Regions from separate parts of the Homo sapiens genome. Here regions 1, 3, 4, 5 and 6 are each linked to region 2. The links are contacts of gene promoters, found by promoter capture Hi-C in blood cells and fetal thymus (Javierre and others, 2016). All regions are on one chromosome and are shown on one strand. The core of a region is centred on a gene start or on the middle of the fragment in contact, and the rest is flanking DNA. Distances in the headings are between cores, read along the strand shown. Region 1 overlaps NLGN3 (neuroligin 3). Region 2 holds the start of TAF1 (TATA-box binding protein associated factor 1). Region 3 overlaps MED12 (mediator complex subunit 12). Region 4 overlaps OGT (O-linked N-acetylglucosamine (GlcNAc) transferase). Region 5 holds the start of CXCR3 (C-X-C motif chemokine receptor 3). Region 6 holds the start of GCNA (germ cell nuclear acidic peptidase).

The links. Contacts are between HindIII fragments. The CHiCAGO score rates a contact against its expected background, and 5 or more counts as called.
Region 1: a contact is called between a fragment that was not itself captured here and the fragment with the promoter of TAF1 in region 2, in 1 of 17 cell types (total B cells). The highest score is 5.0, in total B cells.
Region 3: a fragment that was not itself captured here is called in contact with the fragment with the promoter of TAF1 in region 2 in 4 of 17 cell types (non-activated CD4 T cells, neutrophils, total B cells and 1 more); the score reaches 6.9 in non-activated CD4 T cells.
Region 4: a contact is called between a fragment that was not itself captured here and the fragment with the promoter of TAF1 in region 2, in 15 of 17 cell types (total B cells, naive B cells, total CD8 T cells and 12 more). The highest score is 12.2, in total B cells.
Region 5: a contact is called between the fragment with the promoter of CXCR3 here and the fragment with the promoter of TAF1 in region 2, in 3 of 17 cell types (total CD8 T cells, activated CD4 T cells and M0 macrophages). The highest score is 5.6, in total CD8 T cells.
Region 6: the fragment with the promoter of GCNA here is called in contact with the fragment with the promoter of TAF1 in region 2 in 15 of 17 cell types (activated CD4 T cells, naive CD8 T cells, M2 macrophages and 12 more); the score reaches 14.7 in activated CD4 T cells.

The regions. Positions count from the first base shown.
Region 1 is chrX:71,156,301-71,159,161 of GRCh38, forward strand. All of the region lies in intron 5 of NLGN3 (neuroligin 3), which reads left to right. Among named protein-coding and RNA genes, the nearest start is that of NLGN3, 13 kb to the left of the region's middle. The HindIII fragment of the contact is 2,026 bases long and covers 570-2,595 here.
Region 2 is chrX:71,365,006-71,368,028 of GRCh38, forward strand. It overlaps TAF1 (TATA-box binding protein associated factor 1), which reads left to right and starts at 1,352. Exons shown (of 38, transcript NM_004606.5): 1 at 1,352-1,489; 2 at 2,494-2,608. The coding sequence starts at 1,370. RefSeq lists enhancers at 116-685, 854-903, 1,394-1,443, 1,962-2,657 and a silencer at 1,044-1,233. The HindIII fragment of the contact is 14,477 bases long and covers 1-3,023 here.
Region 3 is chrX:71,135,360-71,138,375 of GRCh38, forward strand. It overlaps MED12 (mediator complex subunit 12), which reads left to right. Exons shown (of 45, transcript NM_005120.3): 37 at 922-1,296; 38 at 1,520-1,670; 39 at 1,828-2,024; 40 at 2,199-2,276; 41 at 2,367-2,584. Among named protein-coding and RNA genes, the nearest start is that of NLGN3, 8.0 kb to the right of the region's middle. The HindIII fragment of the contact is 4,663 bases long and covers 1-3,016 here.
Region 4 is chrX:71,548,578-71,551,636 of GRCh38, forward strand. The region is part of intron 5 of OGT (O-linked N-acetylglucosamine (GlcNAc) transferase); the gene reads left to right. Among named protein-coding and RNA genes, the nearest start is that of OGT, 17 kb to the left of the region's middle. The HindIII fragment of the contact is 817 bases long and covers 1,329-2,145 here.
Region 5 is chrX:71,616,846-71,619,866 of GRCh38, forward strand. It overlaps CXCR3 (C-X-C motif chemokine receptor 3), which reads right to left and starts at 1,666. Exons shown (of 2, transcript NM_001504.2): 1 at 1,593-1,666; 2 at 1-614. The coding sequence starts at 1,604. The HindIII fragment of the contact is 3,713 bases long and covers 1-1,818 here.
Region 6 is chrX:71,576,983-71,579,707 of GRCh38, forward strand. GCNA (germ cell nuclear acidic peptidase) reads left to right here and starts at 1,455. Exons shown (of 13, transcript NM_052957.5): 1 at 1,455-1,540. RefSeq lists an enhancer at 1,662-2,303. The HindIII fragment of the contact is 6,206 bases long and covers 1-2,725 here.

The sequences.
Region 1 (2,861 bases), core at 333-2,832, 210 kb before region 2:
ACACCTGTCCCTCACTATCTCCTCAGAAACACAAACAAATATTCCCCTTCCCTACACACATATACTCTTACCTGTTTGTCCACACTGTCCCACCCCACACATACACAGATACTACACACACACCATATCCACATCTATATACATCCCACACACTGCCCTTATGTCATTCCCCTACACATACATTCCCCCACACACACATCCACATATGCATGCACGCGTATACATGCGCACACTCTTCCATATACAGCCTGTATATGTACACCCAGCACACACCCATGCACTTCTCCCCTCACCCCACCCCACAAATATATACACATCCGTGTACATGGGGCTGCATCTGTATCCATACATGCACACACACCTCTACCCAGGCCCAACCGCATCCCCCAAGTCTCCCCACACTTCCTTACCCCGTATATGCACACGTACACACTCTTTGTACTCTAAGCATGTCCCCTGCACACTCCCACCCATCACACACATACTCCCATGCATATGCACTCATTGCCGAAATGCCTCCTCATATGCACCCATACACCTCCCCACCCCCGCATTCTCTGCTGTGCACAAGCTTGTGTCAGTCATTTAGGCTGCCCTTGAACCCTGTACCTTCCTTGGTGACCACCCATGCCTATCTATGGCCAAGGTCTTGAGGTAAACGAGTGCCTCAGAGAGGGTGACTAAGCACACAGGGCCCTGCTCATGCTCCCCCAAGCCCCGCATCCCTGTAGTGGCATGAAGAAGCCAACTTCTTCCTGGAGGAAGAGTTTCAGCGGGAGTGTAGGCTCTTGGTCAGGTCTGTAGGCATATGGGTGCTAAACCAGCAGTTAGGCGTGGCTTATTCCATGGCTAACTAGGGGACACGACCATATTTGATTTTATTTTCATTTAATTTTTGAGACAGGGTCTCACTCTTGCCCAGGCCAGTTTTGAACTCCTGAGCTCAAGTGATCATCCTCCCACCTCAAGGGCCTTATTTTAATTTGCTTATTTATTTATTTATTTATTTATTTATTTATTTATTATTTTTATTTTGTTTTTGAGGCAGAGTCTCACTCTGTCGCCCAGGCTGGAGTGCAATGGCACCATCTTGGCTCACTGCAACCTCCGCCTCCCGGGTTCAACTGATTCTCCTGCCTCAGCCTCCTGAGTAGCTGGGATTACAGGCACCTGCTACCATGCCAGGCTAATTTTTGTATTTTTAGTAGAGACAGGGTTTCACCATGTTGGCCAGGCTGGTCTCGAACTCCTGACCTTAGGTGATCTGCCTGCCTCAGCCTCCCAAAGTGCTGGGATTACAGGCATGAGCCACCACGCCTGGCCCTTAATTTTCTCTTGACTATATTGCTTTGTCAGTTCCAATCTCAGAGGCTCCGGGGCTGCATTTCACTTCTGGGTGCAGTTGTATGCCCAGAACGGCAATCTTCTCTTGGTTTACAATTAATACTATGTGAGATAGGAAGATACTCTTTTGGGGTTCAAACTGCAGAAATGATGCTCCTTTAAAAAAGCAAAGTCGGTGTCCCCTTCATTGGCGCCCGGGAGACTGAATATGGAGCATGCAGGCCATTCACGCTGGCCTCCCCACGGTCTGGTAGGCTTGGGATGTTGGGATGTCATGGTTCTGCTCCTGCCCCTCTGTCTTTCTGCATCACCTCAGACACCATGGTGAGGCTCTTGTAAGCTGTTCTGTCCTGTTGAATCTCATGGTACCATGAAGGTGGCTGGAAACCCACACACTAGGGCTGCACACTTTCTTTTTTTAATTAATTAATTAATTAATTAATTAATTTTTGAGACAGAGTCTCACTCTGTCACCCAGGCTGGAGTGCAGTGGTGCAATCATGGCTCATCGCAGCCTCGACCTCCCAGGCTCAAGTGATCCTCCCACCTCAGCCTCCCGAGCAGCTGGGATTATGGATTACAGGTGTGCACCACCACACCCAGCTAATTTTTGTATTTTTAGTAGAGACAAGGTCTCACTATGTTGGCCAGGCTGGTCTGGAACTCCTGATCTCAAGTGATCCACTTGCCTTGGCCTCCCAAAGTGCTGGGATTACAGGCGTGAGCCACCGCGCCCGGCTGGGCTGCACAGTTTCTAGAGAGGAATGAACGCGCAAATGTGATCACAAACAGATATGCAGACACATGTACACGGTAGTTCAAAGCCAAAAGTAATTTTGCTACTTTCTTTTCTTAGAGTGACAGAAAACACTCAGCTCAGCTGCTTAAAAAAATATAAACACAATGCTCCATTCTATAAGGTTTATTGGAAAATACAAAGAATACTAAAAATATGCTTCAGAGCAGCTAGGAATGAAGAAAGAGAGCATGGAAAAGAGGGAGAGAAAGAGGAGAAAGCAAGGAAGAGAAGAAAATGAGAGGATAATAGAGAGTCAGGGAGAGGAAGCAGAGAGGAGACAGAAGGAGAGACTTAGGATCTGGGGAGAGACTCGGCATTTCACGTAGGATGTGAAGTCTCCACAGTGTCAGTTGGGAACTGTGGGCCGCACAGAAGGCTGTCGCTGGTGAGCATTCCGTATGATATCCTGATTTGCTGATTACTTCACAATCCTTCAGCTGCTCTAATCCTTAAGCTTCTACACCAGAAGTTCTTAACCTTTTGGGGCATCTTGGACCCTTTTGAGATTCTGATGAAAGCTATGGACTCTCCCCTGGAACAATGCACACATGCGTGTGTGCACACACATGCATGTGCGCACACACACACTTAATTTTACAGGGCCGGGTGTGGTGGCTCACGCCTGTAATCCCAGCACTTTGGAAGGATGAGGTGGGTGGATCACCTGAGGTCAGGAGTTCAAGACCAGCCTGGGCAACTAAACCCTGTCTCTACTAAA
Region 2 (3,023 bases), core at 102-2,601:
CAATGCATGAAACGTGAATGGATCCTAGTATTGGAAAAAAGGGAGAATGAGGAAGAGTGCTATGATGTGGTAAAGAAATTATTTCAGTCTATATTATCATAATATGTGAAAAAAGCAAGGTGAAAGCCGGGGTGTTGGCTCATGGCTGCAATCCCAGCACTTTGGGAGGCTGAAACGGGCAGATTGCTTGAGCCCAGGAGTCTGAGACCAGCCTGTGCAACATGACGAAACCCCGTAAAATGTTCCAACTAGGACAACTGGGGAAATTTAAGTGCGGACTCTTCCTTAAATAATATTGACTTACTTCCTAAAGTTGTGATAAAGGTACTTTGGTTCCATAGTTAAGATGCTTATTTTTAGGAGTGAAGAACAAGATGCCCATAAATGGTTTAGAAAAACAAAAATCCTAGCAAAATGTTAACCATTGTGAGTCTAGGTGAGGGGTCAGCTGTTCATTTTACTAAACTTTCACATTTTCCGAAATAAAACGTTGGGGGAACAAGTATTTTTTTTGAGGCGGGCTGGAGTGCAGTGGCCCGATCACAGGTCACTGCAGACTCCAACTCCTGGCTCCCACCTCAGACCCCCCAACAGCTGGGACTACAGGCACTGGCCACCACATCTGGCTAATTTTTTTGATTTTGTGTATGGATGGAGTCTCGCTTTCTTGTCCAGGCTGGCCTCATACTCGTGGGCTCAAGCGATCCTCCCACCTCGGCCTCTCAAAGTGCTGGAATTACAGGCGTAAGCCACCGCGTCCGGTCAAAAAATCAATTTCTAGGGAAAAATGTCAACTCAAAACAAGTAACCTGCATAGCTCGGGAATGCCTGTATAATTTACGTCAAGTCTCTCCTTGGGACGGACCGGTGAAATTGCACGCAGCACAAAGACCGGCTCTTACCCTTACTTCCGGGTATTGTGGTACAGGAACCCGAGGTTGCCTGCGCGTAAGCCACGTGACTCGAGCAGCTCCTTCTGATTGGAGGAAGAGCCACTGCTCTAATTCGGTGCCGTGAGAAAGCTCGCGCGCGGAGCAGTGGGAGCGGGCGGGACTGAATATTTTCTTTGACCAACCGCTTTCCACATATCCATCCTCCTGATCCCGTAGCGTCGAATCAAAAGCCGTTAGTAAAGTAGTTACTTCTTTCTCTTAGGATAGCCGGTCTTTCCGGGTTTTCCCCCCCTTCCCCCTCCCCTCTCCCCACTTCCCCCTCCCTTTCCCCTCTGTTTTGAGCTTCCGGTAGAGGCTGGTAGGGTAAGGGAGCTCAGTAAGTCACTTCTGGGCGACTGTTGTTTTATTTCCGGTCTATGGGACCCGGCTGCGATTTGCTGCTGCGGACAGCAGCTACCATCACTGCTGCCGCCATCATGTCAGACACGGACAGCGACGAAGATTCCGCTGGAGGCGGCCCATTTTCTTTAGCGGGTTTCCTTTTCGGCAACATCAATGGAGCCGGGCAGCTGGAGGGGGAAAGCGTCTTGGATGATGTGAGGGGGTGGGCGTGGGGGTAGGGCTCGGGGGGTGGGGCTAAGCAGAGGAAGGAGGTGCGGGGAGGAAAGGAGAGGGTGCTCAGGCAGCGAGAACAGGGCGCAGCTAACGCCGGGGAGGAGGATCCCGTCCTCATGGGTGCGGGAGCAACGTGGCGTGGGAGTGATCGTTCTGGGGGAGAGTGGGCAGAAGAGAGCGCGAGGCGAGCCCGGGGCCAGGGGCGCAGGGAATAGTGGCTTTGGAGCTAGCGCTCTGCCGACCAGACAGTAGGACACATGCTGGTTTCGCCTACTGAGATGGCTTCCCACCCGTAACCTGCTTGGAGATTCTTGACACTGCCTGCCCCTCTGACATCGCTGCCCTGAGATGGCTCTATAGAGCCAGAGGACTGGACAGGACCTGCCTCCCGCTCGTTTGGTTCCGGCCTCAGGCTTAGGACAATGGGGTGTTCCTAGCACCCGAGCGGGCCTCCTGGTCACAGTGCGCCTTTTAGGTGGCTCTCCCAGCGTCTTCACTGACTTTCGTGAAATAGTGTCCTGCGCCCTAGTGAAACTACCCTGCCTTCACTTAGGCCCGTTTTCTTGAGGAGTGAAGCTGTCGGCCGCTGTGGCCCCTCCTGTGCCGCAGGCGCATGCGAAACAGGGACCGAACGAGCCCCGCCTCGACGCCTCCAATCCCACTGATCCCCCTGCCTCGGCCCTCGTTCCGAGAACGACCGTTCCATTCATTCAGTCTTGGCAGTAGTTATTTGATTCGTCTTCTCTTGTAGTATACTTTAAAGTGTGGGCGATGCAGTTGGCTGTGGTGCTTTAATAAAGATCTGATCGATGCGGAGTTTGGTAGATGTATATTACAGTTCTCGAACGTGTTGCTTGTTTTGGCACACTGCACAGTCATTTTTCATGTGGATTTGTGACTTTGTCGTGGACCAGGGAAATAAGTCCTGTGGTGTGGGAGTCGTAGGTTTAGTTGTTATCTTCGACTCGTGCTGTCCCTTTTTCAGGAATGTAAGAAGCACTTGGCAGGCTTGGGGGCTTTGGGGCTGGGCAGCCTGATCACTGAACTCACGGCAAATGAAGAATTGACCGGGACTGACGGTGCCTTGGTAAATGATGAAGGTGAAGTCTGGGTTGTGGGGAGTAGGCGGGGGAGGAGGCTAGCCACCTACTATGTATGTACTTTTTTGTGTGTGTAAGACGGAGTTTCGCTCTGTCTCCGAGGTTGGAGTGCAGTGGGGCGATCTGGGCTGACTGCAGCCTCCGCCACCCGGGTTCAAGCATTTCTCCTGTCTCAGCCTCCTGAGTAGCTGGGACTACAGGCACGCACCACCACGCCCGGCTAATTTTTGTATTTTTAGTAGAGACAGGGTTTCATCATATTGGTCAGACTGGTCTTGAACTCCTGGCCTGAGGTGATCCGTCTGGCTTGGCCTTCCAAAGTGCTGGGATTACAGGCGTGAGCCACCGCATCCAGCCTGTACATGTACTTTTAAATGGGAATTATCTGAGGGAGTGAGGGTCGCTTACTGTTGTT
Region 3 (3,016 bases), core at 15-2,514, 230 kb before region 2:
CATCAGTCTCTGCCGGTGAACACCATCTCTGGGGTTTTGAGCAAATCACTTAACTTTCCTTACATTTCATCTCCATCTTTGAAGTCCCACCCTCTTTCCTTCACCCTGCCCTCACCTTTTAACATACCACCCATTTTTCAATACCCTACCCTCCTCTTTCCTCTGCTCCACCTGCCCCATGTCCTACCCCACCCATCTATCTGGCCGACAGCCTGTATCTCTTTTATTTCTGTGTTTCCCTACACCCACCCATCTCTGCACACTTTTATCTTTTCCCTCTCTGTCAGTTGCGGTATTTGTTGAGTAACCATAATTATTGTGTATAGTTTAAAACCCAAAGTCTAACTCCTTCATATATACATTCTCTTCATCTGTCTTCCTAGTCCATCTGTCTCTTTTCCTCCGTCTCTGTCTCTCTCCCTGTCTGACTCGTTTGCCTTTCTTTGTCTCTCCACCTTTTTGTCTCTCTCTTCCTGTTTCTTTCTCTCTCTGACTCTTTCTCGGCCTGCCTAAAGGCAGAGTCTCTCCCTGCCTTCCTCTCTCTCTTTCTCTGCCTTCCTTTTTCTGTCTTCCTCTGAATGTCAATCCCTCTCCCTCCCCGCTCCCTCTCTGGCTTTCTCCCCAACCCCTTTCTCTCCCGATCTTCTCTCCCCACACGCCCCCCGCCCCGTTAGTTCATCTCCTCTCCTGGTCTGGGCTGGCTTCATCTTGTGCCTCCACACCTCTCCCTGTGCCCCACCCTTCACTCTCTCCCCGCATAACTCTCTTCCGCATGTATATGTGTATCCATGTCTGTCTGTCTGCTTCTTACCATCTCTCCTGAATCTGCCTATGACTTTCTTTCTACCCATTCCTACAAATGCTTGCAGTCTTCTGTTTTCTAAGTCCCAACAGCTTATTGTTTTTCATTTTCTGGAGCAGGGTCTACAGGTTTCCACCAAACAGAAGATCTCGCCCTGGGATCTTTTTGAGGGGTTGAAGCCGTCAGCACCACTCTCTTGGGGCTGGTTTGGAACAGTCCGAGTGGACCGGCGAGTGGCTCGAGGAGAGGAGCAGCAGCGGTTGCTGCTCTACCACACACACCTGAGGCCCCGGCCCCGCGCCTATTACCTGGAGCCACTGCCACTGCCCCCAGAAGATGAGGAGCCGCCTGCTCCTACCCTGCTAGAGCCTGAGAAAAAGGCTCCAGAGCCCCCCAAAACTGACAAACCGGGGGCTGCTCCACCCAGTACTGAGGAACGCAAGAAGAAGTCCACCAAGGGCAAGAAACGCAGCCAGCCAGCTACCAAGACAGAGGTGAGCGCCTCCCCCGTGACAGTTCTCCCACAGCCTCTCACTTCATGACGCTCCGGTTTCTGGTTTGTGGGAGGGGTGGGGGCGCATAAGGAAGGGGTGCCATTAGAATCATAATAAAAATTAACCATATACGAATTCAGCTCCTCTTTACCTCATTCTCCCCCAGCTCCCCGACCCCATTCAGCTACAACCCACTCACCCTCTTCCTCTGCCACTCACACAGGACTATGGAATGGGCCCGGGTCGGAGCGGCCCTTATGGTGTGACAGTGCCTCCGGACCTCCTGCACCACCCAAACCCTGGTTCTATAACACACCTTAACTACAGGCAAGGCTCCATAGGCCTGTACACCCAGAACCAGCCACTACCTGCAGGTGAGTGCCAGCCACTAGGAATGCTGGAGGGACCTACCTGTACACTCCCCCTGCCCAAAGGATGATGCCATTCCCCTGAGGAGCTATGGATGTCAAGGACACTGAGCAAGAGACAGAGGGATGAGGAGCCTAGAGGTCAGCCCACTCTCCTTTTCAGGTGGCCCTCGTGTGGACCCATACCGTCCTGTGCGCTTACCAATGCAGAAGCTGCCCACCCGACCAACTTACCCTGGAGTGCTGCCCACAACCATGACTGGCGTCATGGGTTTAGAACCCTCCTCTTATAAGACCTCTGTGTACCGGCAGCAGCAACCTGCGGTGCCCCAAGGACAGCGCCTTCGCCAACAGCTCCAGGCAAAGATAGTGAGAGGGGCAGTAGGGAGGGCTGTCAGGGAGAGGGGCTTTTGAGGGTCACAGGACGGAGGAGACACTTGGGATCTTCACAAGGACACTCAGGGTGGGAGACACAAGAGATGAGATGGCAGCAAGCATTTCCTGAGTTTGAGTTGTTCTCTTTTCTCCCTTTAGCAGAGTCAGGGCATGTTGGGACAGTCATCTGTCCATCAGATGACTCCCAGCTCTTCCTACGGTTTGCAGACTTCCCAGGTAAGAGCCTGGGATTGTGAGACTAGGGGGATGAGGCAAGCTGCTCTGCATACTCTCGGCCCTGATTCCCTCTCTCCTTCTTCCCTCCAGGGCTATACTCCTTATGTTTCTCATGTGGGATTGCAGCAACACACAGGCCCTGCAGGTACCATGGTGCCCCCCAGCTACTCCAGCCAGCCTTACCAGAGCACCCACCCTTCTACCAATCCTACTCTTGTAGATCCTACCCGCCACCTGCAACAGCGGCCCAGTGGCTATGTGCACCAGCAGGCCCCCACCTATGGACATGGACTGACCTCCACTCAAAGGTACCCAAAGTAGTGGTGAGCTAGGAAGAGATGCAGAGGTATAAGGGAGCATTTGACTTGGGAAAGCCTGTGCCTGAAAGTGGTGGGACTGGTCAGAACTTTCGGAGACATCAAGAATACTTATCTGGCCACATAGCCCATAACCACAGAAGTCTCGAGCTGGAAGGGACCCTGGAGACCAATAGTTTCATGACTACTTCCTTAACAGTTCTTTGAGGCCCAGAGAGGGGAAATTGTTTATCTGACTCAAGGAAAAATCTGGGCTGGGTGTGGTAGCTCACACTGGTAGTCCCAGCACTTGGGGGCCCAAGGTGGGAGAATCAGTTGATTCCAGGAATTCGAGGCCAGCCTGGGCAACATAGGGAGATCCCATCTCTACAAAAAAAATACATATTTTTTTGAAACAGAGTCGCACTCCATTTGCCCAGGCTG
Region 4 (3,059 bases), core at 487-2,986, 180 kb after region 2:
GTAGCCATCAAAAATGAAATCATGTCCTTTGCAGCAACATGGATGCAGCTGGAGTTTATTATCTTAAGTGAATTAATGCAGGAACAGAAAACCAAATATTGCATGTTCTCACAAGTGGGAGCTAAGCATTGGGTACACATGGACACAAAGGGGAACAATAGACAGTGGGGCTTACTTGAGGGTGGAGGGTGGGAGGAGTGTGAGGGTACAAAAACTACTTACCAGGTACTATGTTCACTACCTGAGTGACAAAATCATTTGTATACCAAATTGCTGTGACACAATTTACCCATTTAACAAACCTGCATGTGTACCCCAAACCTAAAATAAATGTTGGAATTAAAATAAAACTCATATTAAAGTTTTAAAAAAGGGCTTTGTATTAGGTAATTTTACCTAAACGTAGGCTAATGTGTTCTGAGCATGTTTAAAATGAGACTAGCCGGGCCAGGTGTGATAGCTCACATCTGTGATCCCAGTGCTTTGGGAGGCCGAGGCGGGCAGATTGCTTGAGCTTAGGAGTTGAAAACCAGCCTGGACAACATAACGAGACCCTGTCTCTACAAAAATGAGCTGGGTGTGGCAGTGTGCTCCTGTAGTCCCAGCCATTTGTAGGGCTGAGGTGGGAGGATTGCTTGGGCCTGGGAGCTGGAGGTTGCAGTGAACCAAGATTGCACCACTGCACTCCAGCCTGGGTGACAAAGTGAGGCCCTGTCTCAAAAAAAAAAAAAAAAAAAAAAAAAAAATTAGGCTAAGCTAGGATGTTCACTAAGTGTTACAGATGCATTTTGACTTAAGATATTTTCAACTTATGATGGGTGTATCGGGACATAACCCCATCCTAAGTTGAGAAACATCTTTATTGCAGCATTTGCTGGATAGTACATGGTATGGCAGTTTCCAATTTTGTGTTGAAAATGTACTTTAGGCTGCGTGCTGTGGCTCACACCTGTAATCCAGCACTTTGCGAGGCTGAGGTGGGAGGATTGCTTGAGCCTAGTAGTTTGAGACCAGCCTGGGCAACATAGTAAGACCCTGTCTCTACAAAAAATACAAAAAGTAGCTATGCGTGGTGACACACACACAGCTACTGGGGAGGCTGAGATGGGAGTTTGAGTCTGCAGTGAGCTGTGATCATGCAACTGCACTCCAGCCTGGGTGATGGTGTGAGACCCTGTCTCAAAAAAAATGTACTTTAGTAATTAAAAATGATTTTTATAAATGGGCTTTAAAGAAGCAGGGCTTCTTGGTGAAAAGGCAGATTCCAGGTCTGGGGCAGGAATTTAAAAAAAATTTTTGGAATGTCTTGTCATACCAGAAAGCAAGGAAGCTTTGACATATTACTTTGCATCAAAAGGACTCAGGAAGCAACTTGAGGAGGCTCCCACTGGCTAAAGATGCAGACTTGAGCATCAATAGGAATAATAACTGAAATATACTAAAACTTATCAAGTATGTTTAAATCTATGAGCTTATAATTATGCTAAAAAATTCATTGGTCATCTTTGGAAGACTTACAAGGAACAATTAATTTGGAAAACTGGTTAAAAAGAGAAGAATAAAGTTTTTGAGGAACCTCTATACTAGTTCCCAAAATGGCTGTGCCAATTTATACTTCCCCCATCAGTTACAAGGCTTCCCTTTCTTTACATCCTCACTAACACTTGTTATTATTCGTCCTTTTGATGATAGCTATACTAACAAGTGTGAGATGCTAACTCATGGTTTTATTTTGCATTTCCTTGATGATTAGTGATGTTGAGCATATTTTTTATATATCTGCTTGCCATTTGTTTTTTTTGTTTTGTTTTGTTTTGTTTTTTTGAGATGAGGTCCTGCTCTGTTGCCCAGGCTGGAGTGCAGTGGCGCCATAATAGCTCACTGCAACCTCGAACTCCTGGGCTCAAGTGATCCTCCCACCTTGGTCTCCCCAAGTGATAGGATTACAGACATGAGCCACTGTGTCTGGCCTGTACCTCTTCTTTTGAGAAATGTCTGTTTAGATCCTTTGCCCGTATTTTAATGGGCGTATTTGCTACTGAGTTGAGCTTCTTAACCCTTTATCAGTTGTATAGTTTGCAAATGCTTTCTCCTAATCCGGGGTTGCCTATTCACTCTGTGTAATTGTTTCCTTTACTGTGCAGAAGCTTTTTAGTTTGATGCAATCTCATTGCATATTTTTGCTTTTGTTATCTGTGCTTTATGCTAAGTGAAATAAACCAGGCACAGAAAGTAGATACTGTATTATGTCACCTATTTGTGGAATCTAAAAAAGTTGATTTCATAGAAACAGAGAGTAGAAGGGTGGTGAGGCTTGGGGGGGTGGAGGAGGGATGGGGAAAAGGGAGATATTGATCAAAGTTTCAGTTAGACTGGAGGAATAAGTTTTAGTGATCTGTAGTACTGCATGGTGACCACAGTTGTTAATAATGTATATTTCAAAATTGCAAAAAGAATAGGTTTTTAATGTCCTCAACCACAAAAAAATAAGTTAGTGAGGTGATGGCTATGTTAATTAGCTTGGTTGACTCTTTCTAAAATGTATACGTGGATCAAACCATCACATTGTATGCCATAAATATACACAATTATATATCAACTTTAAATTTAAAAATTAAAAGAATAAAGCATATGTCTTCCCTCTCCTGTATGAACTAGACCATAGAGTAACCCAATAGTTGATGGGGGAAGCTTTTCTTTATAAAAGCATTCTAGCTAATAAGTGAAGAAGGAATGATAGAATATCACCATTAATAGTGAAAGCATTTATTAGGCCGGGCTTGGTGGCTCACGCCTGTAATCCCAGCACTTCGGGAGGCCATGGCAGGTGGATCACCTGAGGTCAGGAGTTCGAGACCAGCCTGGCCAACATGGCAAAACCCCATCTCTACTAAAAATACAAAAATTAGCCAGGCATGGTAGCAGGAGCCTGTAATCCCAGCTACTCAGGAGGCGGAGGCAGGAGAATCTCTTGAACCTGGGAGGTGGAGGTTGCAGTGAGCTGAGATTGCACCATTGCATTCCAGCCTGGGCGACAGAGCAAGACTCCATCTCAAAAA
Region 5 (3,021 bases), core at 416-2,915, 250 kb after region 2:
TGTGGGAAGTTGTATTGGCAGTGGGTGGCGTTGAGGCGCTCGTCGTGGTGGGCCGACAGGAAGATGAAGTCTGGGAGGGCGAAAAGCAGGCAGAGCCCCCAGACAGCCAGGCAGGTGAGGGTCACGCGGGCCGGGGGCCCCCGGCGGTAGAGCTGGGTGGCATGAACTATGTTCAGGTAGCGGTCAAAGCTGATGCAGGCCAGCAGGAGGGCTCCTGCGTAGAAGTTGATGTTGAAGAGGGCACCTGCCACTTTGCAGAGGCCAGAGCCAAAGACCCACTGGACGGCAGCGTCCACTGCCCAGAGCGGCAGTGTCAGCACCAGCAGCGTGTCTGCTACAGCTAGGTGGAGCAGGAAGGTGTCGGTGCTGCTCAGGGCTGTCCGCCGGCTCAGCAGCACGGCTGCCACCGCGCCGTTGCCCAGCAGCCCCAGCAGAAAGAGGAGGCTGTAGAGGGCTGGCAGGAAGGCCCGGTCGAAGTTCAGGCTGAAGTCCTGTGGGCAGGGCGGGGAGGTACAGCACGAGTCACTCTCGTTTTCTCCATAGTCATAGGAAGAGCTGAAGTTCTCCAGGAGGGCGGCAACCTCGGCGTCATTTAGCACTTGGTGGTCACTCACCTGTGAGGGCGGGAACGGGGAGGAAGGGGCTGTGTAAAGGCCTGGCAGGAACTCTTTTGTGATTGAGTCTGATTTAGTCTGTGATTTACTCTGAGCAGCTCCTCCTATAACTGTCCCCGCCAGTCTTCCAGGGCCGTACTTCCTCAACTCCATCCGCTCAGCCTGGGCTCTGGGATAGTGACTTCCCTTCTCAAAGGCTGCTTCTCTCGCATTCTTCTGCGTGATCCCATCGGCCCAGGGACCCCTGGGCAGGAAGAAGAGCGTCCCTCCAGTGCCCAGAGCCCTCTCTGCCCACTGTCCTCTCTCTCCCTGCTCTCCCTTCAGGCTTGCCTTGCGTCCTCAGTGCCCCACCCCCAACACATAGTTCAACCACCTTCCTCCCCAGCGCCTCTCCACAATCCCCTTTTCCAGTCACTAACCCTCCTCTTCCCTCCTTGGCCCTTGTCCGGGGACCCCAACTTCCTGCGCCCCCCCCCACCGTGTGGCCTCTCTACAAGTCACCACGCCCCCCAAATGCATGCAGTCTGCCCAGTCCTTCCCCCTCCCTACACTGAGGCTTGCACGGCCATTTAGCTGCCCACAAGGGGATCCCCCACTTAGCTTGAGAAGGAATCTTCTTTATCCCCTCACCCCCAGCACTATGGACCTGCAGGTCTCCCCAGTACCAATTTAGTCCAGCACGCCAAGAGTCAAAGTTCCAAGTCTCCTGAAGGGAGCCTTCGAGTCTACTTGCCCCCCGCCCCCCCCATTTTGCAGACGAGACACCGAAGCCAGAGAGGAGAGGAGAGGCACCCAGGGTCAGTGGCCAAGCTGGGTTCCCAATTCCCCAGTGCTGTTTCTGCCACAACCCATGCGGCCTCCAGCTACTCACCCAACCCTGTGGTGACCCTGGGCTGTGGGCCAGCCCTGGCATTCCCCTGATGCCCCGGGTTTTCCACTTCGAATTCTGGCCTGGCCTGGCTGGGCAGCAGCACTTACCTCAAGGACCATGGCTGGGCTGGTGCTCTGGCTGCTGGGTGGTGTGCTGCCTGCCCCTCTGCTTTGGTGCTTGTGGTTGGAAACCTGCAGTCACAGAGGAAGTGGGAGTTTCAGGCAGTTCTCAGCAGCAGCCTCTTCCAGGGAGTTACCTCTACCAGACCTCCCTAAACCTCAGGCCACAGAGTTTCCGTGACTGGGTGAAACCTCTCTGGAGGAGCTGGCTACAAGCTTGGGACCAGAAAAGCTGGGCAGAGGATGACTGGCTGGGGGCAGGTCCTTTGAGAAGAGAGGTCTGAAGAGGAAGCAATGCAGCTGAGAAGTGAAGGGCAACCCTACTGCCTGCACTGGTAGGGTCAGTGCTCCATAGATTGGAACTCATCTGTCCTGGCCTTGAGTTGATCTTTGCATGATTGTAAAGGCTGGGTAGAGAAATAAGTCTGCAGAGGAGATCCACCTTCTTAAAAATTTCAGCTAGGTGCAGTGGCTCATTCCTGTAATCCCAGCTACTGGGGAGGCTGAGGCAAGAGGATCACTTAAGGCCAAGAGTTTGAGACCAGCCTGGGCAGCATAGCGAGGCTCCATCTCTACCAAAAATAAAAAAAGCCAGCCGGGCATGGTGGCATGTGCCTGTAGTCCTAACTACTTGGAAGCCTGAGACAGGAGGATTGCTTGAGCCCGGGAGTTCAAGTCTGCCTTGAGATATAATTGTACCACTGCACTCCAGCCTGGTGACAGAGTGAGGCCCTGTCTCTTAAAAAGGGAATTAAAATATTTTTTTAAAAAGCCGTTACACTAAATCTAGCTTTTTACCACCACCTCTCCCTGCTAATCAGTGGGGAAAAAGAAAGGGAACTACCAGTAATGAACTTGCTATGTGATAGACATTGCTTTAGGTGCTTTCTCCGACACTGCCTTATTTCAACCACACAACTCACTTGTGACGTGCGGGGTTATCTGCATGGATGATTCAGAAAGGGGACAGGCCTTCGCCAGACACGGCAATTAAAGGTGGGCGTGAGGATTGATCCCACGGCTGTCTGATTCTCCTTTTCCTACTCATGAACACTGTCTTCAGTTTCTTTTAAGTGAATAAGCTATGATATATTCATGCAGTTAAAAACAAATGAACTAAAGCTACACATTTGAACATGGATGCATCTAGAAAAGCCAACGATCACATGGTAGAAGAAGCAAGTTACAGAATGCCATGTATAGTTTGATGCCACTTACATAAACTCTAAAAACCACCACAAAATCAATACCATGTTGTTTTGGATAACACTGTTGGTTCTCGAGGTTTAAAACAGGGACAGGAGATACCACAAATTCATAAAAGCAGTTGCTTCTCGGGCAAGAAGGAGGATGGGGTTGGGGAGGAGGCCATAGGAACTTCTTGATCTTAAGGAAAAGCTGTAAGGCAGCCTTGGTA
Region 6 (2,725 bases), core at 205-2,704, 210 kb after region 2:
TTGCCCAAGCCTCTGAGGCACAGTTATGTAATCCCCATTCTTATAAAGAGGCTTGTAGAGGTTAATTTGCAACTTCATTGTAGAGAGAGAGAGTAATCAGCCCCCTTTATCCAATTTTTTTATCAACTGAGAAAGTATCTGTATTTAGGTAGGCAATCTGGTGCTTAAGAGCAGGTTTTGGAACTAGAGTTGGAGTTTGAATCTCAGCTCTGCCACTTTTTTTTTTTTTTTTGAGATGGAGTCTCGCCCTGTCCCCATGCTGGAGTGCAATGGCACGATCTCGGCTCACTGCAACCTCCGCCTCCCAGGTTCCAGCGATTCTCCTGCCTCAGCCTCCCGAGTAGCTGGGATTACAGGCGCGGGCCACCACACGCGGCTATTTTTTTTTTTTTATCTTTAGTAGAGACGGGGTTTCACCATGTTGACCAGGCTGGTCTCAAGCTCCTGACTTCGTGATCCACCCGCCTCAGCCTCCCAAAGTGCTGGGGTTACAGGCGTGAGCCACTGTGCCCGGCCAGCTCTGCCACTTTCTAGCTGTGTGATCTCTAAAATGAGAGTGCTAACAGTTGCCTACTTTTTAAAGTGTTGTATGAATTAAGTCGTAAGACACTTGGAATAATGCTTAGCACAAAATAGTATCAAACGCAGGGACATTTTATGTGTGTTCTGTTACCCAAAGGCATACATTACGAAATATATAGATGCTCGCTGGAGAAACTGGCACAATCTAGAAAGCGCTGTTTTCCCCGTTTGTTTTTCTTGGTGTGTATGGAGTGAGTGCCAAAAAGCCTCAAGTAACCTTTTTTTATCTCCAGGGTTTGGAGGGTTCTGGAAGTAAACATCATAGTTCGCCGTTGCCAGGCGCTGTTGAGTTGCTGCCTTGCTCTTATCTAGGGGTCTAGATGGCCTTCCCTGCAACCCCCGCCCCCCTGCGCTCCCGCGTCCCCCCGCGCCCCGCCCTCCCCTCGGTGTTCCCGTCCACGCCCCTGCTCCCGCGCCTTCGCTCCAGTTCTCGTGCCCCCGCCCCTCCCCCCGCGCCCTTTCCCAGTGGTTGCAATAACGGACTTAGAGGTCTGGACAATTCAAGTAAGGAACAAGGCTCGCTTATCCAAGTTCTCGCAGGATAAAAGTTTGTTATGAACGATTTCACATGGTTTCTCTTTATCAGAAAGTTGTTAGGGACTTTTAATCGCAGAATTGGCCTCGGGTGCCCACGCTCTAGTATTGAAATGGCGGTTTTGGGACAAATAAGCAACATCCGTGGGAGTGGAAAGCGACAGACCTGATCCCGGAAGCGTTACAGCTAGGCGCCAAGTTCACAGGCGCGAAGTTCAAATTTGTCTTGTGACCACTGTGATAGGTGGGTACAGGGGAGCGCGGGCGAGCACACGTGAATTACTGCTACCGCCCCCTAGGTCCGGGCACTATAAAGGGGCCTGCGCCTGGCGTTGTTCATCGCAGTTGCTCCGGATCTTTGCACACACTCCACGGGCAGTTGGAGGTGAGCTGCTGCCGGCCACGCCAGAGGCTGCAACACCAGGTAGGTGACCGGCTGGTCGGACTGAGATGGGTGCTGAAGTGGTCCAGAGGTTAATCCTAATTGAGTGACTTAATTAAAATCAGGACCACTGTATACCTTGGACTCTGGTTGCCCGTGTAGGCCTGAGGTGGGAGTAGAGGAAGTGGCAGCGAGGGGAGAAGTGGAGGCGCCAGTGGTAGCATTGGGGGAGGTGGGGGCGCCCATGGTGGTGTAGGAAACATATGGTGGCGCCAGTGGCGGCATTGGGAGGGGTGGGGGCGCCGGTGGCGGCGTAGGAGCAGCTGGTAGTGCCAGTGGCGGCGTGGGGAGAAGGGGCGCTGGTGGCGTCATTGCAGATAGTGGGGGGCCTGGTGGTGGCGTAGAAGGAGGTGTTGGTGCCAGTGGCGGGTGGAGAGAAGTAGGGGCACCAGTGGCGGCGTTGGGGGAAGTGGGGGTGCCTGTGGCAGTGTCGGGGAAGTGGGGGTGCTGGTGGTGGTGTAGGAGCATGTGGTAGCACCAGTGACGGTGTGGGGAGAAGTAGGGGCACCATTGGCGGCCTTGGGGGAAGTGGGAGCGCTGGTGGTGGCGTAGGAGCGTGTGGTGGCGCCAGTGGCTATGTAGGAATACGTGGCGCCGGTGGCGGCGCGGGGAGAAGTGAGGGCGCTGGTTGCGGCACTGGGGGGAGGTGGGGGCCCCAGTGGTGGTGTAGGAACAGGTGGTGTCCCTAGTGGCGGGTGGGGAGAAGTAGGGATGCCAGTGGCAGCGTGGGGGGAGGTGGGGGTGCCAGTTGCGGCCTAGGAGTACTTGGTGGCGTTGGTGGCATAGGAGCACATAGTAGCGCTGGCGGTGTGGGGAGAAGTGGAGGCGCCGGTGGCCGCATTGAAGGTGGGGGTGCCAATGGGGGCGTTGAGGGAAGTGGGGGGTTCTGGTGGCGGCGTAGGAACACTTGGTGGTGGTGGAAGTGGCCTAGGAGCACGTGGTGGTGCTGGTGGGCGTGGGGAGAAGTGAGGATGCTGGTGGTGGCATTGGAGGTGGGGGTGCCAGTGGCTGTGGGGAGAAGTGGGGGTGCCCGTTGCAGCATTGGGGGGAGGTGGGAGCTAGTGGTTGTGGGTAGGGGTGTGTGTGTGGGGGTTGAGGTCTCTTTGGCTGAGGACTGAGTGGTGGTGGGAGACAGGAGTGGGGTAGGGCAGAAGTTGGATAGAAGTG